4 separate regions of the Homo sapiens genome follow, and all the other regions are linked to region 3. The links are contacts of gene promoters, found by promoter capture Hi-C in blood cells and fetal thymus (Javierre and others, 2016). All regions are on one chromosome and are shown on one strand. The core of a region is centred on a gene start or on the middle of the fragment in contact, and the rest is flanking DNA. Distances in the headings are between cores, read along the strand shown.

Evidence for each region. The method cuts DNA at HindIII sites, captures the fragments that hold promoters and counts their contacts. A CHiCAGO score of 5 or more calls a contact.
Region 1: a fragment that was not itself captured here is called in contact with the fragment with the promoter of ZFP69 in region 3 in 5 of 17 cell types (naive B cells, naive CD8 T cells, total CD4 T cells and 2 more); the score reaches 6.2 in naive B cells.
Region 2: a contact is called between a fragment that was not itself captured here and the fragment with the promoter of ZFP69 in region 3, in 13 of 17 cell types (naive CD8 T cells, total CD8 T cells, M2 macrophages and 10 more). The highest score is 9.8, in naive CD8 T cells.
Region 4: a contact is called between a fragment that was not itself captured here and the fragment with the promoter of ZFP69 in region 3, in 6 of 17 cell types (naive CD4 T cells, total CD4 T cells, total B cells and 3 more). The highest score is 8.1, in naive CD4 T cells.

The regions. Positions count from the first base shown.
Region 1 is chr1:40,182,730-40,187,909 of GRCh38, reverse strand. All of the region lies in intron 1 of RLF (RLF zinc finger), which reads right to left. Among named protein-coding and RNA genes, the nearest start is that of RLF, 24 kb to the right of the region's middle. RefSeq lists a silencer at 1,175-1,364. The HindIII fragment of the contact is 6,433 bases long and covers 1-5,180 here.
Region 2 is chr1:40,151,409-40,156,942 of GRCh38, reverse strand. All of the region lies in intron 2 of LOC105378671 (a long non-coding RNA gene), which reads left to right. Among named protein-coding and RNA genes, the nearest start is that of RLF, 7.2 kb to the left of the region's middle. RefSeq lists a silencer at 3,089-3,228 and an enhancer at 3,429-3,488. The HindIII fragment of the contact is 1,073 bases long and covers 1,386-2,458 here.
Region 3 is chr1:40,473,055-40,478,706 of GRCh38, reverse strand. ZFP69 (ZFP69 zinc finger protein) reads right to left here and starts at 1,417. Exons shown (of 6, transcript NM_001320179.2): 1 at 813-1,417. RefSeq lists a silencer at 1,209-1,678. The HindIII fragment of the contact is 9,111 bases long and covers 730-5,652 here.
Region 4 is chr1:40,208,227-40,213,445 of GRCh38, reverse strand. The region is part of intron 5 of RLF (RLF zinc finger); the gene reads right to left. Among named protein-coding and RNA genes, the nearest start is that of TMCO2, 37 kb to the left of the region's middle. The HindIII fragment of the contact is 168 bases long and covers 2,418-2,585 here.

The DNA.
Region 1 (5,180 bases), core at 974-3,473, 290 kb after region 3:
CTAGAATAATGTCTTCAAACATTCCTAACTTCCTGTCTTTGATTTTTCTGCCTAAACAACTACAAATAACTACAATAGTAGCGCAGGATTCTGCTGGATTTTCTGCAGCTTTAGTTTCCACACAAATGGTCCCTGTATGAGTTCTGGTAACTGACTGTTAGCATCATCTTGATTACTTTAACATTTAAAAAAAGAGAGAGAGAGAAACAACTTACAAGGAAATATACCATAGACCATTATACCATATACAGTAAAAGTTCCCTTAACTAATATATTGCATTATCTGATCTTTGCATACCTGAATCATTACAGTCAGTTGAGCTATTTTTAGTATACCGACCTACTCAATTAAGTATCTTGCTACTTGGTCACAGTCACTTTAGATAAATGCCCTTCTGTAATTTCAGAAAAGCAACATGTCACCACTTAATCAAATCCCTAATTTTAATAAAATAAAAAAACTGAGTAACATTATAAAACTGACCCCTAAGCAATCCTGCTTCCCAGCTGAATTAGTAGAGAAAGAATGCAGAATGGGTGTCTGTTACATAACTAAGATTTCACCTAATTTATTAAAATCAGCCAGGTGCTGTGGCTCACGCCTGTAATCCCAGCACTTTGGGAGGCCGAGGCGGACGGATCACAAAGTCAAGAGATCGAGACCATCCTGGCCAACATGGGTGAAACCCCGTCTCTAAAAATACAAATATTAGAGATGGGCGTGGTGGCGCGCGCTTGTAGTCCCAGCTGCTCAGGAGGCTGAGGCAGGAAAATCGCTTGAACCTGGGAGGCGGAGGTTGCAGTGAGCCAAGATTGCGCCACTGCACTCCAGCCTGGCGACACAGCAAGACTGTCTCAAAAAAAAAAACCAAAAAACAAAAAACAAAGAAATTTATTAAAATCTATGTTACAAAAAAATTCTGGTTTAGGTCAGTAAGTTACTTACTGTCTGCATTGGCTAATCTAAGAATTAAGGAGTTTCAAAAATTTATATTTAGTGCCAGATTTATGTTCCTTAAAGTCAGACATTATGTCTCATCAATCCTTATAGGCCTACCACTCCTCTACCCACTTCCACCCCCACAGGACATTCTCAAGTCTCACTAAATGTCTGCTGAATACATTCACCATTTTATTCATTTGACAAATATTTTTCAATAGATTATCACACATAAAGTGCTAGATGCAGTGGGGGCGGGCAGACATGTGGCCTATCCTCACAGAGCTTTCAGAATGAGTCAATACAACATGATGGCTGAAACCACACATGCAAATTAACCAACTGCTAACTAAAGTATGCAAAGAGAAGGACAGAGTGCATACAGATGGGGTTAGTCTTTCCACAATCCACCTGTCCACTTAGAACGCTCTTGCCACCAATCTAATAGCTTCTGACAGACATTCCACCAGGACTTCTGTAAGCTACACAATTTCAAAGATTCAATACTCTTGAGGAACTTCCAGTTTGCTCTATACTAATTTATACTTTTTATATTCCTAAATCTTTACCCCCTCATGTGTTGGTTCAAATTAAGTAGTGAGATCTCTTATACCCACTATAAGCATACTCTGGGTATGTGAAGAATGGCTGGAATAATCAATCTTCTTCATTATCACTTTTTTTTTAAATTGAGATAGAGTCTCATTCTATCACTGCTGGTGATCCTCCCACTTCAGCCTCCCAAGTAGCTGGGACTACAGGCATGAACCACTGTGGCTAGCCAGGCATTTTCTTTCTTTCTTTTTGTTTTTTTAATCAAGTCTCACTCTGTCACCCAGGTTGGGGTGCGGTGGTGAAATCTCGGCTCACTGCAACCTTCACCTCCCAGATTCAAGTGGATCCTTTCACCTCAGGCTCCTGAGTAGCTGGGATTACAACTGTGCGCCACCAGGCTCGGTTAATTTTCCTGTTTTTAGTAGAGATGGGGTTTCACCATTTTGGCCAGGCTGGTCTCGAACTCTTGACCTCAAGTGATCCGCCTGCCTTGGCCTCCCCAAGTGCTGGGATTACAGGCAAAAGCCACCTCGCATCCAGCCTTTGTGGTTTTTTTTTTTTTTTTTTTTTTGCTTTTTTTTTTTTTTTGAGACAGTCTCACTCTGTCAGCCCAGGCTAGAGTGCAGTGGCACGATCTTGGCTCACTGCAAGCTCCACCTCCCAGGTTCACGCCATTCTCCTGCCTCAGCCTCCCAAGTAGCTGGGACTACAGGCACCCGCCACCATGCCCGGCTAATTTTTTTTTTTTTTTTTTTTTTGTATTTTTAGTAGAGACGGGGTTTCACCGTGTTAGCCAGGATGGTCTCGAGCTCCTGACCTCGTGACCTGCCCGCCTCGGCCTCCCAAAGTGCTGGGAGCCACTGCGCCCGGCTTTTTTTTTTTTTTTTTTTTTTTTTTAATGCAAGATTAGGTTGAAAGGATTACAGCCATCCAAATAACAGGATGGCTGTAATCCTTTCAACCTAATCTTGCATTTAAAAAACTGGACTAGGCAAGGTGGCTCACGCCTGTAATCCCAGCACTTTGGGAGGCCGAGGCAGGTGTATCACTTGAGGTCAGGAGTTCAGACCAGCCTGGCCAACATGGTGAAACCCTGTCTCTACTAAAAATACAGAAAGTAGCCGGGCGTGGTGGCGCATGCCTCTAGTCCCAGCTACTTGGGAGGCTGAGGCTGGAGAATTGCTTGAACCCGGCTAGAGTTCAGTGGTTCAATCACAGCTCACTATAACCTCAAACTCCTAGGCTCAAGTGATCCTCTCTCCCACCCACCTCAGCCTCCTGAGTAGCTAGGACTGGAGAAGTGCATCACCATGCCCAGCCAATTAAAAAAAACTTTTTTTTTGTAGGGACAGGGTCTCTTTGCTGCCCAGTCTGGTCTCAAATTCCTGGGCCTCAAGTGGTCCTCCCACCTTGGCCTCTCAAAGTGCTGGGATTACAGGTGTGAGCCACTGTACCCAGCCACGGTCTCTTATTTTTCTTTAGGAACTGAAATCACAACTGAAGAGAAAAGGGGCAATAAATGATAAAGATGACCTCCTAAAGTTCATTCTACAGTGACCAAATTAATGACCTCTCTCTTTTGTTTCAGTAAACTCATTCCACAAATACCTACTATTTTGTACTGTGCTGGGAAGTAAGGATGGAGACTCTATTCCTGCCCTTGAAAGGCTATGATATATACTAAGGGGTCAGATATATAAGTAAAAAATTAGCTCACTTACGCACCATATTTGACTATTCGGTGCTCTCATTCACATCCCAAGCAGATTACCCTCAAATTACTCTCTCAAGTCCTTGCTATATACCTCAACTGCCTATTACATATTTCCATCTGGATGTCCTATTCAAATCTCAAACTCAGCATGTCCAAAACCAAACATCTTCCCCAGCAAATATGCTCTTCCTCCTATGTTCCATCTGCCTCCTTTCAGGAGCCAGAGCTAAAAAACTATCTTTGAAACCACCACACCAAAGTTTGTTGATTCTATCTCAGAAATATCTTTGTCTCCTGTCCCTATGCTTTATCTCTGTAGCCATTCACCTAAACCAGGCCCCCAATATCCCTCATCTAGACTGCTACATTGGTTCACTTCTCTAGGCTAAATAACCTCTAGTTCTGTATATGTGTTATAATCACGTATGTCTGTACATTGAAAAAATTAATGTCCAAGGGGAAAATGACTAGAAGAAATTAACTAAAATGCTTACATGGTTAGCACTGAGGTAGCAGGAATATGAGCAATTTTTGTCATCTTTATACTTTTCTAAACTTCTCAAATTTTCTTTAATAAGCATGACTACATTTTCAAAGCAAAAAAAATCTCCCCTCACCCTTAATTCTCTCTACATTTCTCACTACATGGTTTCAAGGAGCTTGGCAGCATTCTGACTATTCCTTGAAACTATCAAGAAAGGAGAATTTCTTTCAGGATGGTCACATTTAATGTTTAAAGAATACATTCCAATTTAAATTTCACATAGTTCAGGATTAACTTTCCTAATGAAATAATTATATTTACTGAGCACATAGTATGGGTTAGGCACTTCCTAAGAGCTTTACGGCCACTAAACTTATTTAATATGCACAACTCCATGAGCTAGGAGTTATTATCAGCCCATTTCAAAAATGAGGAGCCACTGTCAAGTTGTCTTTTGGGAATTTTTTTTTTTTTTAAATGAGGAAACATGAGAGATTGAATTATTTGGGCAAAGTCATCCAATAGGTGTTAGATTCAGGATTTGAACTAGAGCCATCTGGCTCCTCAGCCCACACTTAATCACCACGCTTTCTTTATGCCTTTTCACAATTCAACTATTTTAAGTGTGCTTTTAAATTCTGCCCCCTCACCCCCAGCATCAGCTTTAATATTTTGTAGCAAGTTGTGTCATGGTCATCATTTGGCCTTCTTCCCGAGTTTACAACATCTAACTTCCATTCTAAAGTGAATGCTTCTGGGGAATGTTTTCAAGCAATGGCACTGACAGATATCCTGTACTTCAGAATGCTGGTGGGTCACAAAAAACTGACAAAAGATAGCTAGTGTTTCTTTTTAAAGCTGTATGTTCTATGGCAATAGGAAGTTATGTGTTTTCTAATAGAGAGGGGTTTGGATTATTTCAAATTTTGCACATAAAGCAAGAAACTTTTATTTAAATTTCTCAGCATGTGAAATTCCCAGAATTATACATTTCAGTAAAATGTGACTGCACTACAAGAGGTAGACTTCCAGGAGAGGGCAGCACTTGAGATGGATCTCTGAAGTACGAGCAAAAGTGAGGGGAACAGGAGGACTCCAAAGAAAGAACTTGAAAAAAGTCAGAAAAGATGAATAGACAACTAGATGGCTAGAACAGATCAGAGTAAATGCTGAAGAGACTTAAATGTCAGCATGAGGAAGCACCACCTCTTGATGGAGGTTTGCCATCAAGAGACTAAGCTGAGAGTGAGATGAAATGAAATGGGGAGAGAACAGCTGGCTGCTTACAACCAGAAAGTTAAGTGGCTAGAGTAAATTAAACCCCCTAAGTCTTTAACATATGCTGCCACTATGCCCCCTGCCTCATTTTCTATATTGGTTATAGGTGGTTTTCTTAAAGCCAGTGATATGACTAACTTATTACTCTATCTATCTATCTATCTATCTATCTATCTATCTATCTACCTATCTATCTGTCTATACTTTTT
Region 2 (5,534 bases), core at 673-3,172, 320 kb after region 3:
TTCACTTGGATTCCAAGTCTGCACATTCTCCTGGTGTTTTTTTTCTTGATTTCTTTTCTTTTATTCTCTCTTTTCTTTGTGATTTCTAAGTGTCCCAGGCATAGTCTGTCAACTTCTTTTCTATCTACACTCACTGCTACACTCACCCAGTTCTAATACATGTATGTGCTTATGACAATACCACCCTAAGTCCAGGCAACAAGGGCCCTGCCCTGGGTCCCACACTTTAGAGGACTACACAAACCTCTCTCTCTCTTTCTTACACACACACACATGCACACACACACACACACACACAGTAACTATATTAAAGAACACATGGGCACCCCTATCATTTGAAATCCAGCACTCAGCACAAGTACAATCTTAAATATTTGCTTTCTTGAGGCAGGGTCTCACTCTGTCACCCATGCTGAAATGCAGTGGTATGATCACAGCTCACTGCAGCCTTGGCCTTCCTGGACTCAAGCAAGCCTCTCACGTCAGTCTCTTGAGTAGCTGAGACTACAGAAATGCAACAACAAGCCTAGCTTTTTTCCATTTCTATTCTTTTCTTTCTTCCTTTGTTTCTTTGTTTCTTTCTTTCTTTCCTTCTTTCTTCTTCTTCTTCTTTTTTTTTTTTTTTGACGGAGTTTCCCCTTTGTCACTAGACTGGAGTGCAGTGGGGTGATCTCAACTCACTAGAATTTCTGCCTCCTGGGTTCAAGAGATTCTTCTGCCTCAGTCTCCTGAGTATCTGGGATTGCAGGTGTGCATCACCACACCCGGATAAATATTTGCTTTCTTTACCACTACTATTCAGGCTTTAGGGAACCTCTTTATCACGTCTCTTGCTCCATATACTCAAAGCTGAAAGGCACCAAAAGAATTGAAACCAGAGACATGAACAAATATTTGTACATTTGTGTTCACAACACTGTTATTCATAATAACCAAACGATAAAAATGACCCAAATGTCCATGAATGAATGAATAAATAAATGAATGTGGTATAGACATGCAATGGAATGTTATTCAACCTTAAAAAGGAAAGAAATTCATTCCTGAAAAAACAGGGGGAGGGAGGAAATTCTGACACGTGCTACAACATGGATAAATGTTGATTATGCTAAGTGAAACAAGCATCATAAAAAGACAAATGTTGTATGAGTCCACTTATATGAGGTATATAGAGTAGTCAAATTCATAGAGTAAGAAAGAATAATGGTGGTTGCCAGGGGCTGGGGGAGAGAGAGGCCAGCAGAGTTATTGTTTAATGGATGTAGAATTTCAGTTTGGGAAGATGAAAAAGTTACGGTGATGGAGGGTGGTGATGCTTGCACAACAATGTGAATGTACTTAATGCCACTGAACTATACACTTAAAAATGGATAAAATGATAAGCTTTACCTTATGCATATTTTACCACCATTAAAAAAATGAAAGACAACTGCATCCTAATGTCTTGAAGGTTTTGGGTTGTGCTACTTAAGAGAAATAGGCACACTGTTTTTGAAATGCTACGTAGAGTGTGTTCGAGCTACAGAAGCACTTGGGTAAGAGAAAACACAAATTAGCTTGTCATACTCTTCCTCTTAGATAGCATAAATGCATTTTCTTGCATAACCATGTATTGTTTCTTGGTAGTGGCAGATGTTCCTTTTTTTAATTGTCTCCATACACACATATGCGTATACACTGATATATACATGTATCTGTCTAGATGTAACATGAGTAGAGAGTAAGACTGAACATTTACATAATCATAAATAGACAATGAATATTAGCATTGGGAATAACTATTTGTACAAAAATATTTAATAAGACTGAATTGTTTTTTAAATGAAATTTACAATTCTAGCATTATTTACTTAATTTTAATTTAAAATTGTGAAAGAAAATAGTCTATTTTGAGCTTCTAAAAGTTGTTAGGCCCTAAGCAAGGTTGACTTTGGAGACTGAGTCACAAAGCATGACCTCTTGTTTACTGGCATTTTTGTTTTTTTGTTTTTGTTTTTTTTGACACAAGGTCTTACTTTGTCACCCAGTCTGGAGTGCAGTGATCTCAGCTCACTGCAACCTCAACTTCTTGGTTCAAGAGATCCTTCTGCCTCAGCCCCTCAAGTAGCTGGAACTACAGGCACATGCCACCACACCAAGCTAATTTTTGCATTTTTTATAGAGATGGGGTTGCTGGTCTCAAACTCCTGGACTCAAATGATCTGTCCATCTCAGCCTTTCAAAGCCCTGGGATTACAAGCGTGAGCCACTGTGCGTGGCGGCCTTTTGTTATAGATTAACTTCCTTCCTATTTTCTTTTACTTGGCTCAAACAAGAAAAAAAGACCCCTTGACTATTACATCCTTAATGTGAAATGTGAAATATACCCTTCCCCCAAAAGAAACACTGCATATAATCAATCAAATTGCTGTATCTATGCATTAATCTTGTATGCAAAATGTTGAAATCCTGGTAAGCTTCCCCAGACTTTACCTATTTAAGCACCCTCAAACCTCTCCATTTCAGAGCACTGACCCCATCTTTTTGGAGTCTATATCCTCTCAGATGGCCACCCTCAAATTTACACTCGAATAAACTCAATATTTAATACTGTTGCCTGAATTTCATTATTAAGGTTGACATTTTGGCGACCATGAAGGGACCTAAGGCAAACCTTCATTCCAGTGATTCCTGTCATTTCACTAACAGCCAAAATCTTGGTACCAGCATGAACAACTTTTGTTCATCCACCCTCAAAAGAACTAATGGGGATCCCTGGTAAGGCTCCTCTCAGGTTGTAGTCCTCTTGGCTTTGATGAGGATTCAGACTTTATTCCAGCTATACACTTCTAACTGGAGGAAGTAAGAATTAAAGCTCTGCTGCAAGATAGGAGTTTCATTTGTTATTCTGTAGAGATTCTGCTGATCATAGATTTGTGACTTTCAGTCGGGTGCAGTGGCTCACACCTGTAATCTCAGCACTTTGGGAGGCCGAGGTGGGTGGATCACTTGAGGTTGGGAGTTCGAGACCAGCCTGGCCAACATGGTGAAACCCCGTTTCTACTAAAAACACAAAAATTAACTGGGCGTGGTGGCACATGCCTGTAGTGCCAGCTACTCAGGAGGCTGAAGCAGGAGAATCACTTAAACCCAAGAGGCAGAGGTTGCAGTGAGCCGAGATCACACTACTGTATTCCAGCCTGGGTGACAGAGCAAGACTATGTCTCAAAAAAAAAAAAAATTGTGACTTTCACTTTTCTGTGAGGTTAAGGTTTTTGTTTTGAATTACTCCTTAGAGTTTTTACAACTTTTTCTCTCATTCAAAATGTTGATAAGGTGAAAAACAGTTTATTTTTAAAAAGAGGAAGTAAATCTTTGTGGTTTAAGCAAAAATGTTATAATATTTAAAGCTAGCCAGGTTCTGAGGCTTGGTTCAATTGACAAATTCAAGCTTGCTTCTTGAGTGACCAAAATTATGAAATACTCTGTATAAGGATGAAATAAGTCCTGAAGATAATAGACACTGTTTCTCCCAGCTAAAAGTCACCTTAAGCAACTAAGGTCTAGTGTGAGTATCTGAGTTAATCACTCCTGATAAGTAACAGTCTCACAGGAAATCCCTTAAGTAGAATTTAAAGGAAACCTTGCTTAATCTGGTGAGCACACATAAAGGATTGATTACCCTGTATCTTAAGCATCCAAGTTTGTTGGTATCATTGAGATTTGTATGTGAGAAGAACTGACTCAAGAGTGACACCTTGAGGAGCTATTTTCGCAAGCAGCACACTCGATCTCAAAACAACTTTCACTAAGTCTTTTGGTCTTAGGGATCTCAAAACAACTTTCTTGATCTCAAAACAACTTTCCCTAAGTCTTTTGATGCACTATGGGCAACTGTGCATCTAAAACTGAACCTTCCTCCTTAAGAGAGACCCACTATTAGAAACTCCAGCTGGATTTATAGTTAACACATATGACATGATGCCTTTTCAGGTAAGTATTTAGAAAACTGCTCGTGAATAACTCACAATGACTCCAAATTATAATGGCCAAAATGGTGTGCCTTTGAAATGCCTAATCTAGTTTACTTATATGCTCAATTAGAATAAGCTGGCTCTAAAATAAAACAGAGCAATTGGAAAAGTTATTTTCAATGGCATTTAGAGGCTTCCAAAAGAGGTTTTGATAAAGTTCTTTCTTTACAGAAAGAAAACAAAAGATTCTCTGAAACAATTTCTGAAATAAAAAAGCTGCTGAAATTTCTCCTCCTCAACTCCTCCTTCTCTTTATCCTTCATTATCTCAACTACTTTTTCTTCCTCCTCCCACTTCTACTCCCATTGTTCTGGCTCCATTTTGTGAGTAGCTGGTGTCTGGTAGGGGAGAACCTACCTTGGTTTATGAACCAAGGTGAAATCTAAAGGCATAGTTAAAGAATTCCCTGACTCTCACCTGGACCCTACTCATTTTACCAGACAATTTGAATGGAATATTCAAGCTTATGATCCTGTTGTTTTTTTTCTAATTTATACTAACTAGTTCACATGTTAACATCAAAAAGTAAAGCTAAAGGCGGAGCTTGGTGGCTCATGCCTATAATCCCAGACCTTTGCAAGGCCAAGGTGGGTGGATCACTTGAGGTCAGGAGCTCGAGACCAGCCTGACCAACATTACAGGCATGAGCCACGCGCCCGGCCTAAGGAGTCTTATATCTCAGTCAAGAATCAGTCAAGGAGACTTATATAGACTCAGTCAAGGAGTCTTGTATCTCAGGTACCATCTGAGTCAGGTACAAGAAAATAAGAAAGGAAATTAATCTATAATAAAAAGTCAAGATTAAGAGGTCATGCTCTGTGACTTGGTCTCCAAAGTCAATCTTCCACAAAACCTAAGCTTTTAGAAGCCCCAAATAGACAGACTATTCCTTTTCTTTCACATTTTCCCCTTTTCTTCAAGATCTTTGAAGAAAGCATTACGGAAGAAGCATTTGTTAGAGAGTAGTTATATCTCACATCACTAGGAAGTCTCATTCCTAGAGAGTCATGCCCCACAGAGAGGGGAAATGTTTAATTCATAAGCCGAAAGAAGCCAAAGCCTAATTATGAACAACAGAAGGAAAGTATAACTTAGTGGTCTGATTCTGGTTGTGTGACTTATTTTCAATTAAGGCAACTTTTTAAGCAATTATTATTCTAGTTTTAGTCATTGATCACAAGCAAGCTGAAACACGAATCATGAGTAATTTGATAACTAGGAAAATGGAAACTGTACTTATGATTATAATAACAATTACTTGAAGACCAGAACGAAAAAATGAACTTAGCCCTGAGGGTAACCAACTAAACAAGTCATTTAGAGAATCCATTTTCTTTTCTTTCTTTCTTTCTTTTCTTTTCTTTCTTTTTTTTTTTTTTTTTTTGAGACAGAGTCTTACTCTGTCACCCAGGCGGGAGTGCAGTGGCATGATCTTGGCTCACTGCAACCTTCGCCTCCTGGGTTCAAGTGATTCTCCTGCCTCAGCCTCCTGAGTAGCTGGGACTACAGGGGTGTGCCATC
Region 3 (5,652 bases), core at 168-2,667:
TGTATTCTATAGAGTTGTAATGTTGGTTGAGACAATGCTAGGCATACAGTAAACCCTTAATGAACATTGTTATAAACCTGTTATCATATTGCTGAATCATAGTATTAATTTTTAAAGTTATTTTTAGAAACCATTAAATCTGAATTTAAAGTTCAAAATATCTCAACTGACAGAATAATGACATAGCTGCATTTTGGCATGAACAAGCAGTGACAGCCACGTCACCACCCACGCAGATGCCCAGCAGCTGGCAAGTTCCTTGGAACCACACTGGGAAGATGCATCTTGGTTTCAGAAATGTTAAAATTGGGGAAGAGGGTATGTCTTCAAATGGTGTAAATTTAGTATAATGAGGACTACTGCAGAATAGTAATAGGCAAATTTGGAAACAACTCAAATCCATCATCTCAACCAAACCCTAGAATCTGAGCAGGTGCTTTGACCGTGACCAGGTCCAAAGTATACGGCACTCCAAGAACAGTCGGAGCTACGTGGGAAGGGAGCTGGCCCAACTTTTTGAAGTTTGTTGGAGAAGGATGGGTATGTGACTTATAGGCGTGTGTGTGTGTGTGTGTGTGTGTGTGACTATATGCAGAGACAGGAGCTGCGTGTGTTCTAGGAATTGGAGCTTGTGAGAAATATCCCACCCCTGAATACATAAAAAGTCTTGTTACCAAAGTGCACGAATTTTCGAATCTTACTCGGGAAACAGTTAATGGCTGAGAAGCTTCATATCGAAGATGCCCCACCCTCACAGTGCTCCCAGACATGCCACCCTCGGACTCAAAGACTGCACACAGACTCCTACTCACCACATCGGCCTTGGACCCAGGTAGGACCAGAGACGGGGGCGTGGGAGTGCTCACTCTTGAGGTTTTCAGCGGTAAAGAGTGTCTCTTTAGAGACGGACTGAGTGGTAACAGATATTGTTCCCTCCCGGCCTTTTATAGACAGACCACATCTCCACTCAACGCAATCATTCTCCAAGAAGCGTCCAGCGTTGAGGTCGGCTTCCTTCGGAAGCCCGGAGGACCCTCGGCCTCCGGAGTGGACGAGGGTCTGCTCCACATTCCCATCAAGGGCCCGCCCAGGCGGGTGGGCTTTCCCAGCAGCGCCCCCAGGAGCGAGGCTTTGAGGGCCGGAATGGGAGGGATGCCCTGAGCCGGCGTCTTGCAGACCCCGGGGAGGATACACCTCCCTGGCTGCCGCTTTAACACGGGGCTGGCGGCTGCAGCCAAGCCCACCCAGCCTGGCCTCTTAGGCCGCAGCCGGGTGTCTCGCCTGGCCTCTGCCTCCGGCCGCGCCCTCCCGGCCGCTTGCACCGCCGGCCGCTCTCGCTGCAGCCCTGGCGGTCCCGGGGCCCACCCCACGCGGTCCCGCTGCAGCTGCCACAACCCGCGCGTCTTCCGGCGGGTTGTGAGCCCCGGCCGCCGGCTCCGCCCACAGGGGGCTGCCACGGAGCCCGCCCTCTCCCGGGAAGCAGCGCGCGCCCTCGAACCCGGAAGCTGGAAGCCGCCCGAGCGCGCCCCCGAGGGCCGTCCGGAACCGTGGGTAGCGGCCACCCACCCACGCCGCCCCCCGTTTCCTCACAGCGGTCCTTGGGAGACCTCCTTCAGCCTTTCCGGTGAAGCGCCTTCCCTGTCATTCATTCATTCACTCATTCATTCATTCATTCATTCAGTTATCTATTCTGAGTGTGTAAGATCTACCCCCACATTCTTATTGGCCCTGCGTATACAGCAGTTAACAAAACGCAGTTCCTGCTTTCTTGGAACTTAATTACATTGAAATTAATTGACAATAACAAATAGAAAAATAAATAGATAATACCCCAGGCGATTGTGAGGACCATGAAGAAAAGGAAAGCAGGGTGGGGAGATGATGGGCTAGGATATTTGTATCAACCCACTGTAGAAAACAACAATAAAATTTAAAAATAAAATTCTGGAATACGTGTGTGTGTGTGTGTGTGTGTATGTGTATATATATATACATATATATATAATATATAAATTTGTTTTTGAGACGGAGTTTCGCTCTTGTTGCCCAAGCTGGAGTGCAGTGGCGCGATGTTGGCTCACCGCAACCTCTGCCTCCCGGGTTCAAGTGATTCTCCTGCCTCAGCCTCCAGAGTAGCTGGGATTACAGGCACGCATCACCATGCCTGTAATTTTGTATTTTTAGTAGAGATGGGGTTTCTCCATGCCTGAGCGACAAGAGCAAAACTCCATCTCAAAAAAAAAAAAAAAAGAAGAAGAAGAAGAAGACCCTCCTTACAATAACTGGGACCCCAAAGGGCAACAGCCTCAGGGTGAGGATGAATTGAAAATGGAACAGCTTAAAAGGAATTTACAGACTGCATCAAATTGCCTGTCTCAGACATTATCTTGGTTTAAGACTGTCTCTGACTATGGTGTCACCAGATGCTTGGCAAAAGCAAATAGGTGGAGGAAAGCCTTATAATTGTAGGGCCGACATTTTTCCTACACATAAGTTTTCATAGACAATGTCAAATACAGAATTAAAGATAACCAGGTACACAAAGAAACTAGATTCTTAGTGAGAACCAGCAGAAACACAAACATTGGAAATAGACCTGCAGAAACAACTGCTTTTAGAATTATTTGATGCAAACCGCAAAATAATATTTTCTTGGGCTGGACACAGTGGTTTATGTCTATAATCCCAGCACTTTGGGAGGCCAAGGCAGGTGGATTGCTTGAGCTCGGGAGTTCAAGACCAGCCTGGGCAACATGGCAAAACCCTGTCTCTACAAAATATCAAAAATTAGCCAGGTATGGTGGCACAGCCCTGAAGTCCCAGCTCTTCAAGAGGCTGAGATGGGAGGATCGCTTGAGCCCAGCAGGTTGATGCTGCAGTAAGTCACGATCATACCACTGCCCTTCAGCCTGGGTGACAGAGCAAGACCCTGGCTTAAAACATATGTATATTTTCTTGCTTACCTATTAGAGTTTTTAGGAAAAAAAGTAAAATAAAATCATATTTTCTTTGCCTGAAGAAATAAAAAAGATAACTTGGACAATTTTGGCAGGTACCTAAAAACTATACAAAGTGATAGAGCAGATTTAAAAAAAGAAGTAAATAGACTTCTCTTCTATGATTGAGAAATACAGTAACTAAATTAAGAACTCAGTTAATGGCAGATTAGACACTGCTGAATGTAGAATAAATTGAAAGGAAGGTAGGTCACAAGAAATTATCTAGAATAAAGCATTGAGAAACAAAAAATGTACCCTACAGAAGACAGAGTAAGAGAGATAGAGAATACAGTAAGAGGATCGAACTAAGTTTAACGAGAGATAAAGCTAGGGCAGAGACAGTATTTGAAGAAATAAGGGCTGAATATTTTTAGTACCTATGAAAGGAACCAGGTCACAGATATAAGATGCCATATAACTCTCTAGTGGGATAAATAAAAGAAACCCTTTTATTTATCTAGTCAAAGAAATCTACACCTAGTAGAAGAAATCCACGCATTATAGTAAAACTACAAATTGTTATAGAACCAAACTGGGGTCCACTTGCCTGGTGCAGTAAAAACAGAACAAAGTAAAAAACATGACTAAATCTAAATGAACATAAATAATAGACTAAAAATCTCAATAATCCACAATAATCCATGAGGTTTAAAAAATAGATATAGCATATTGAGTATATGTATGTGTGTGTGTGTGTGTGTGTGTGTGTGTGTGTGTATTTTTTTTTTTTTTTGAGACAGATTCTCTCTCTGTTGCCCAGGATGGAGTGCAGTGGTGCCATCTCAGCTCACTGCAACCTCCGCCTCCTGTGTTCAAGCGATTCTCATGCCTCAGCCTCCTGAGTAGCTGAAATTACAGGTGAGTGACACCATGCCCAGCTAATTTTTGTGTTTTTAGTAGAGAAGGGTTTTGTCATGTTGGCCAGGCTGGTCTCAGACTCCTGGTCTCAAGTGATCTGCCTGCCTTGGGCTCCCAAAGTGCTGGGATTACAGGTGTGAGCCACTAGGCCCAGCCATTTTTTGGCTGGAATTTTTATACGTATTTTTAGCTGGAAGGGCATATTACTGAATATGAAGACCAAATATAAAATTATAGTAACTAAGACAATGAGGTAGCTATTGGTGTAAGAATAGATCAACTGAGCAATGAAGGGAATAGAGTCCAGATGCAGACATACACATAGACCACCACCTTGCATATGACAGGGGTGGGGAAAGGAAGGTGTTTTTAATACATTGGTGCTGGATCAATTGGATATTCATATTAACTCCTGGTTTACAACATATACAAAAATATTCCAAATGGATTGCAGATCTAAATATAAAATAATAAAACTTTTTAGAAGAAAATCAGAGAATGTTTTTACAACCTTAATATAGGCACAGATTTATTACATGCTATAGAAAGTACTAAACATAAAGAAAAAATGATACATTAACATAGATTAAAATTAAGAACTAGATTTTTCAGATACTGCTAGTGAGACTATACATTGGTACATACAACTGTTTTGGAAAAGTATTTGGCAGTATCTACTGAAGCTGAATAATATGACCCAGCAATCCTGCCCCTGGGTATATACTCAACAGAAATGCATAAATATGTTCCCTAAAAGACATATACTAGAATGTTCATAGCAGCCTGTCAGCAGTAGAATGGGTAAATAAATATCGGTATATTCACATAATCAAGTATACACAGCAATGAAAATAAACAACTACACACAATATTAATGAAGCTCACAAACATAGTTTTGAGCAGAAGAAGCCTGACATAGAAGAATACACACAGTGTGATTCCATTATTTAAAAGTACAAAAGCAGGTGAAATTAATCTATGGTGTTAGAAGTAACCCTTTTTAGGGTAGTGACTGGAAGTTGGGGGGCTCCGGTGGCTTCTGGAATGCTATAATTTCTGTTCTTAATCCACGAGGTGGTTACACAGGTATGTTTAATTTTGAAGATTCATCAAGATAGTTCTCTCTATATATATATGTGTAATTTTCTGTATTAATATTGTAATTTAATAAAGTTTTTAAAGAACGTATGTTGTATCTTTCAGAACTAAAAGAACAGAAGCAGAGCATGCAACTTCAGATTAGCAAAGAGGGGGAAAAGCATAATAAAATATAATCCATCCAAAAGTGAATATCTATAAGAAGTGGGGAGCTATTTTATAGAGGGTAATCAAGGAACATCCCTCTGATAAGATGCAATTTGAACAGAGACCTAAAAGAAGTCAGGAAGTGGACCCTATTGATACCTGGAGAAAGCAAGCATCTTAGCAGAAGAAAAAGTCCCCGAGGTGAAAGCATGTGTGGGCATATGCATGGACTGGCAAGGAATCCAGGATGGCTTGAGGCAAACCATGGTATGAACTTGGATCTATTCTGAGAGAAATGGGAAGCCTTTGAAGACTTTAGAACTGAGAAACAGCATAATCTGATTTATGTTTTAATACAGTCATTTGGCTGCTATCTGGAGGATAATAAACTGTGGGGGATGCAAGTGTTCAGGAAGCCAAGTGAGAGAATGGTGAATTGGACTAAGTGGTAGCAGTGGAGATGATGAGAAAAGATATATTTTGAAGATTCAACTCACAGAATTTTCTGATGGGTTGAATGAAGAGCGTTAAAGAAAGAGGAGTCAAGGAT
Region 4 (5,219 bases), core at 1,252-3,751, 270 kb after region 3:
TATTTCTTAAAGAAATAAATGGTCACCAATGCTTCCATTTAAACCCTATCACAGTGTGTATCTGAAAGAAGGCTGAAACGTCCTGCTGAATTCTTGACAATATGTCTGATCGACTCTTCATAATGACCCCCTCCAGTGCAATCATACACCAACCAAAATACCCACACATAACCCATGAAAGTAAGATCAGAAGTGAGATCCAGATGCATACAAAGTTCTGGGAAGACGTCTCTTCAAAGCTATTTGAAAGAACTGTGCTTTAGGAGATAAAATACCTAAACAAGCAAATCCTCAATTTCTTTACACAGACTTTCTGTCATTAGTGTATTCTGAGTGTATTATCTCATTCCTTGTATGATCACAAGGATAAAGTAGAAGTATTAAGACTTTCAAAATAATCAGGCAATTAAACACCAATGGTCTAACAGGCAGCCAATTAGCATAAAAGAAGGTGGTGGAGGTGGCATATTTTAAACTTAATTAAACCTTTTGTAATTATTCCTTGTTCAGAGTTCATCTTAATCTTGATTCTTACTTAAACTACATCTGGAATTTCTATACTCCTGTTTACTTTTTCTTCTACTCCCAAACTGAATTCCCACTGGGTCCTGTTTAAAGGTATCTGCTCTATCATTTATACCTAGTGACTGTGTCAATTCCCAACAGTGTTAGGCTGGTAAGTAAATTGGATCCTGTTTGTCCTTTCCTTTCCCCATCAGGAAAAGAAACAACCATCTGCTATTGTGTCTATCAACCACGTCAGATACCGAAGATGTAGTTCATTCAGGGATTAAGAATGAAACGGACCCCTGCCTTAACTGCGCCAAGAACTCTGCTGACAGATTTCTTGAGCTCTTTAAAATAGAAGTGCTTGATGTTTAAAATGTTATCTTTTCTATGTTGAAAACCTGATCTTTGCAAAGACTTCCCCTTTCAGTAATGAAAAAATATAGGAAACATCCACTTGGGACACTGAGCCACTGCCAAGTCTATAACTTTTATTAAAATCCTTTAATATGTAAAGTTAATAGCAATGTCATCTCATTCAATTCTACATAAATAAAGTATCACAACCTAAAACTCCAGGATTCCATGAAATTCTTCTGCCTTCCAGACCTACCAGATATCTGAAAGGACTCACTCTTTACCCACTAGGTTCTGAATTTTGACTTTCAGATGACCCAGTCAATTAATCTTAATTGTATGTGTCTGGCTAAATCTTCCCCAGCAGCGGTTTCCCATTACATATGCCTATTATTGGGATACCCCCAGGTACCAACATACAATGTACTTTTATTCCCAGCTGTTGCTCAAGTTAACTCTTCTCCTGAACTCAGGTGAAGTAGATGGCAAATATGTGTGTAACTCTGCTACTTTAGAACGTATGCTGAATTTAAACTCTAATTAATCAACATCTGGTGACTCACTAGTAATTTTCCAAAGCAAACTACAGATTATTTTTAATTCTGTTGACACTTGCAAAAGAAAAGTATCACTAGGATAAGAGACTGACTAGTGGCTGGGCGTGATGGCTCATGCCTTGTAATCCCAGCACTTTGGGAGGCCGAGGCGGGCGGATAACAGGAGGTCAGGAGTTTGAGACCAGCTGGTCACCAGTAGAAACGGTGAAACCCCGTTTCTACTAAAAATACAAAAATTAGCCAGGCGTGGTGGCACGTGCCCGTAATCCCAGCTACTCGGGAGGCTGAAGCAGGAGAATCACTTGAACCCGAGAGGCAGAGGTTGCAGTGAGCCGATATCACGCCATTGCACTCCAGCTTGGGCAACAAGAGTGAAACACCATCTCAAAGAAAAAGAAAGGAAAAAAAAAGACTGACTAGTTATGATGATACGATGATACTAGGGTTCCTTTAAAATAATTTTAAGATAACTTTATGTGTACTAAATGTTTTGCATTGGTATATTTAACAAATTAATCCACATCATGATAAAAATGTTTTAAATCACACCTATATGTATAAATATGAACAGAATGATATATCACCAAGATGTTCCCAATCAGACCATGGCTTATCAATGTCTAACACATGGAAATAGGTGGTAGAGTGGAAAGAAGGCTGACCAAGGAGCCAGGTGACCTGCATTCCAGCTGGGCTTGGCCTTTCTAATTAGCTTAATGCAGGAAGGGCCTTGGAAACATTATCAGCTTGGCTTCAGTTTCATCACGTGTAGAACACGGAGGGTTAGACCAACCGATATTAAACCACTGAAATAGACTGGAAAATTTAATTCTTGTAGAGCAGAGGTTAGCAAATATTTTTCGTACAAGGACAGACAGAAAATATTTTTAGCTTTTCTGGCCAGAGAGTTTCTGTTACAACTACTCACCTCTGCCACTGTAGCACAAAAGCAGCCACAGACAAGAAATGAATGTAAGACTTTGTGCCAGTAAAGCTTTATTTATAAAAACAGGTAGCTGGGTGGGTGCCAACCCCCTGTTGTGAATAGTATCAAATCGTATTTCCTATAACACAGTTCCCTGCAAACTCAACACAATCAGGAAAAATCCTGTTTCCAAACATTGTTATTAATAAACCAGGAAAGATCATGTATAAAACAAAGCTTATCATCTTCCCAGACTCTCCCTTGTCCCTCCACCCATTCTTTCTTCTAATTAGCAGCAGAGCACCACTATTCTTCCAGTCTCCCAAGCTAGAAGCCTTATGAGCCTCTTGAAGGTATCTCTGTACATCCTCCTCTGTTTTTGCCCGGTCAGCAAGTCCTGTCCTTTGTCCTCTTGCTGGCTACAATCTCTTGTCCTAAACATAATACATATTCTTTCTGTCTAGTCTTCCTAAAACACCACTTCAGACATGTCACTTCCTAACTGCAAAGCCTTCTTAATTTCTACTGCATCAAATCTAACCATTAATGCAATGGAGTTTCCAAGCCCTTCTTTTCCAACCCCAACAGGTCTTATTTCTCACAAGACTTCAATAACCACTCTGCCCTAAGCAGGGTATTTATTCTCCAGTGGATCCCTGCAAAGTACTCATTAGTACCTGTGCTTTACTACCATTCAGTCATCTCCAAACCATTCTTTCCACCCATCCAAACCCCACCATTACTTAAAGCTCCAATTCAAGGATCAATTTTTCTATAAACACAGAATTCTCTATCTTTACACTTCTACTGAATTTAGGGCAGTAATCATTGAGCTTAGTACTTCTCTTTCTGTAACTATTTTTGGCAAACAAACTGGGCCATACAGTTTGCTGTATTTGCCAATGCCTAATACAACATTAGAAACAAAACGGGTTTTAATTAAGCAAAGGCTGAGAGAGTAAAGTTGTTATTATTACAGGATGAGGAATCAAACCCAAAATGTAGTGTTTTGCTGCTGCTTTTGAATTGTTTTGGCATGTGTCAGGTGCTGAGAATAACCATTACTACATCTCAGTCTGATTAACTTTCCCAAACATAAAATACTGCAGCTGCTATTAGAGGTAAGCAATCTATCTCCTTACACTACCTGATACTGCAAATAAATAAATTAGCATACAGGTTTATAGTTGGTCTCTTATGATCGCCTTTTTTTTTTTTTTTTAAGACGGAGTCTCGCCCTGTCGCCCCAGCTCGAGTGCAAATGGCACGATCCTGGCTTACTGCAACCTCTGCCTCCTGGGTTCAAGTGATTCTCTTGCCTCAGCCTCCTGAGTAGATGGGATTACAGGCGCACACCACCACACCTGACTAATTTTTTGTATCTTTAGTAGAGACAAGGTTTCACCATGTTAGCCAGGCTGGTCTTGAACTCCTGATCTCATGATCTGCCCGCCTCGGCCTCCCAAAGTGTTGGGATTACAGGCATGAGCCACTCTGTCCAGCCCATATGACTGCTTTTAAAAATGTAGATGAAGTCATAGGAGGCTATCTCTGTGTATACCACATTGTTTCTCTGTGCAAATTCAGGTTTCACCTCTGATCAATCTTGACTTCGACGGATCCTCCCTAGTTCTGCACCCCAGGCTTAAAGAATTCTTATACTAGGGTCTATGTTTGTAAGGTGTCTAAAATATGCCAAGAACTGTGTTAAGTGCTTTAGATATTATCACATTTAAACTATCCAGCCATTTTGTGAGACGGCTACTACTGTTGTGCCTACTTTATAGATAAGGAAAATAAAGCTACCTGGCCAAGGCTGTATGGCTAGTAAATGACAATGTCAAGATTCAAGCCTACATATTTTGATTGTTGCTTTCACTTCTCTAGATGTCTTGTGAAAAACATACTCTACCTAAGCTCCTCAGTAAATCCAGTCCAGTAATGAGCCACCCACAAGCCTCAGAACTTCAAAGTCCCCTCCCATCTTTTCTGAAGTTTCCCCTCTGGGTAAACAAAAGAAATAAAAACTTGCCTGCACAACAAGTCTACTTTAAGAACCAGAATCCAGAAAGAACCAGAAGGTTGGCAGTGACAGTGAGTTGGATCATGTACATGAGATGTGTGAGTGTCAGATTAATATGTATAAAAGCAAAGCAGAGGCAGATCACCTTGGATTTAAACCCTGGGCACACCACTTACTGGACATCTTACTACTATGCGCCAGTAATATCATCTCTCAGAGCCTCAGTTAATTTCTATAAAATTCAAAGTTTTTTTGTTTTTGAGACAGGGTCTTACTCTGTCATCTAGGCTGCAGTGCAGTGGTGTGATCTCAGCTCACTGCAACCTGCACCTCCAGAGCTCAAGCAATCCTCCCACCTCAGCCTCCCGAGTAGCTGGGACTACGGCACATGCCACCACGCCCAGCTAAGTTCTGCATTTTTTTTTGTAGAGATGGGGTTTCACCATGTTGCCCAGGCTGGTCTTGAACTCTTGGCCTCAAGCAATCTTCCCTCCTCAGCATCCCAAAGTGCTGGGATTACAGTCATGAGCCACCACACCTGGCCTAAATTAATAGATTTTTATAAGGATTAGATACCGACACATTTAAAGCACACAGCACAGTGCTTGGAATAGACAAGTGAGCAATAAATGTTTTCTGCAGTTATATTTAAGATTCAAGTAGAAAGTCTGAAAAGACAGGCAGTGCAAAGCATTTTATCCTTTGATTTCTTTATCACCAGAAAGTCTAACAAATAAGAACATTTATTAATGAGGCCCTAGGTCATAGCTTCAATCCCCATTTGAGGAAACTACATGTTGTCCACTTCATAGCCACCAACTGGCTGTTTCATCTCTGCATCCCGTATCTG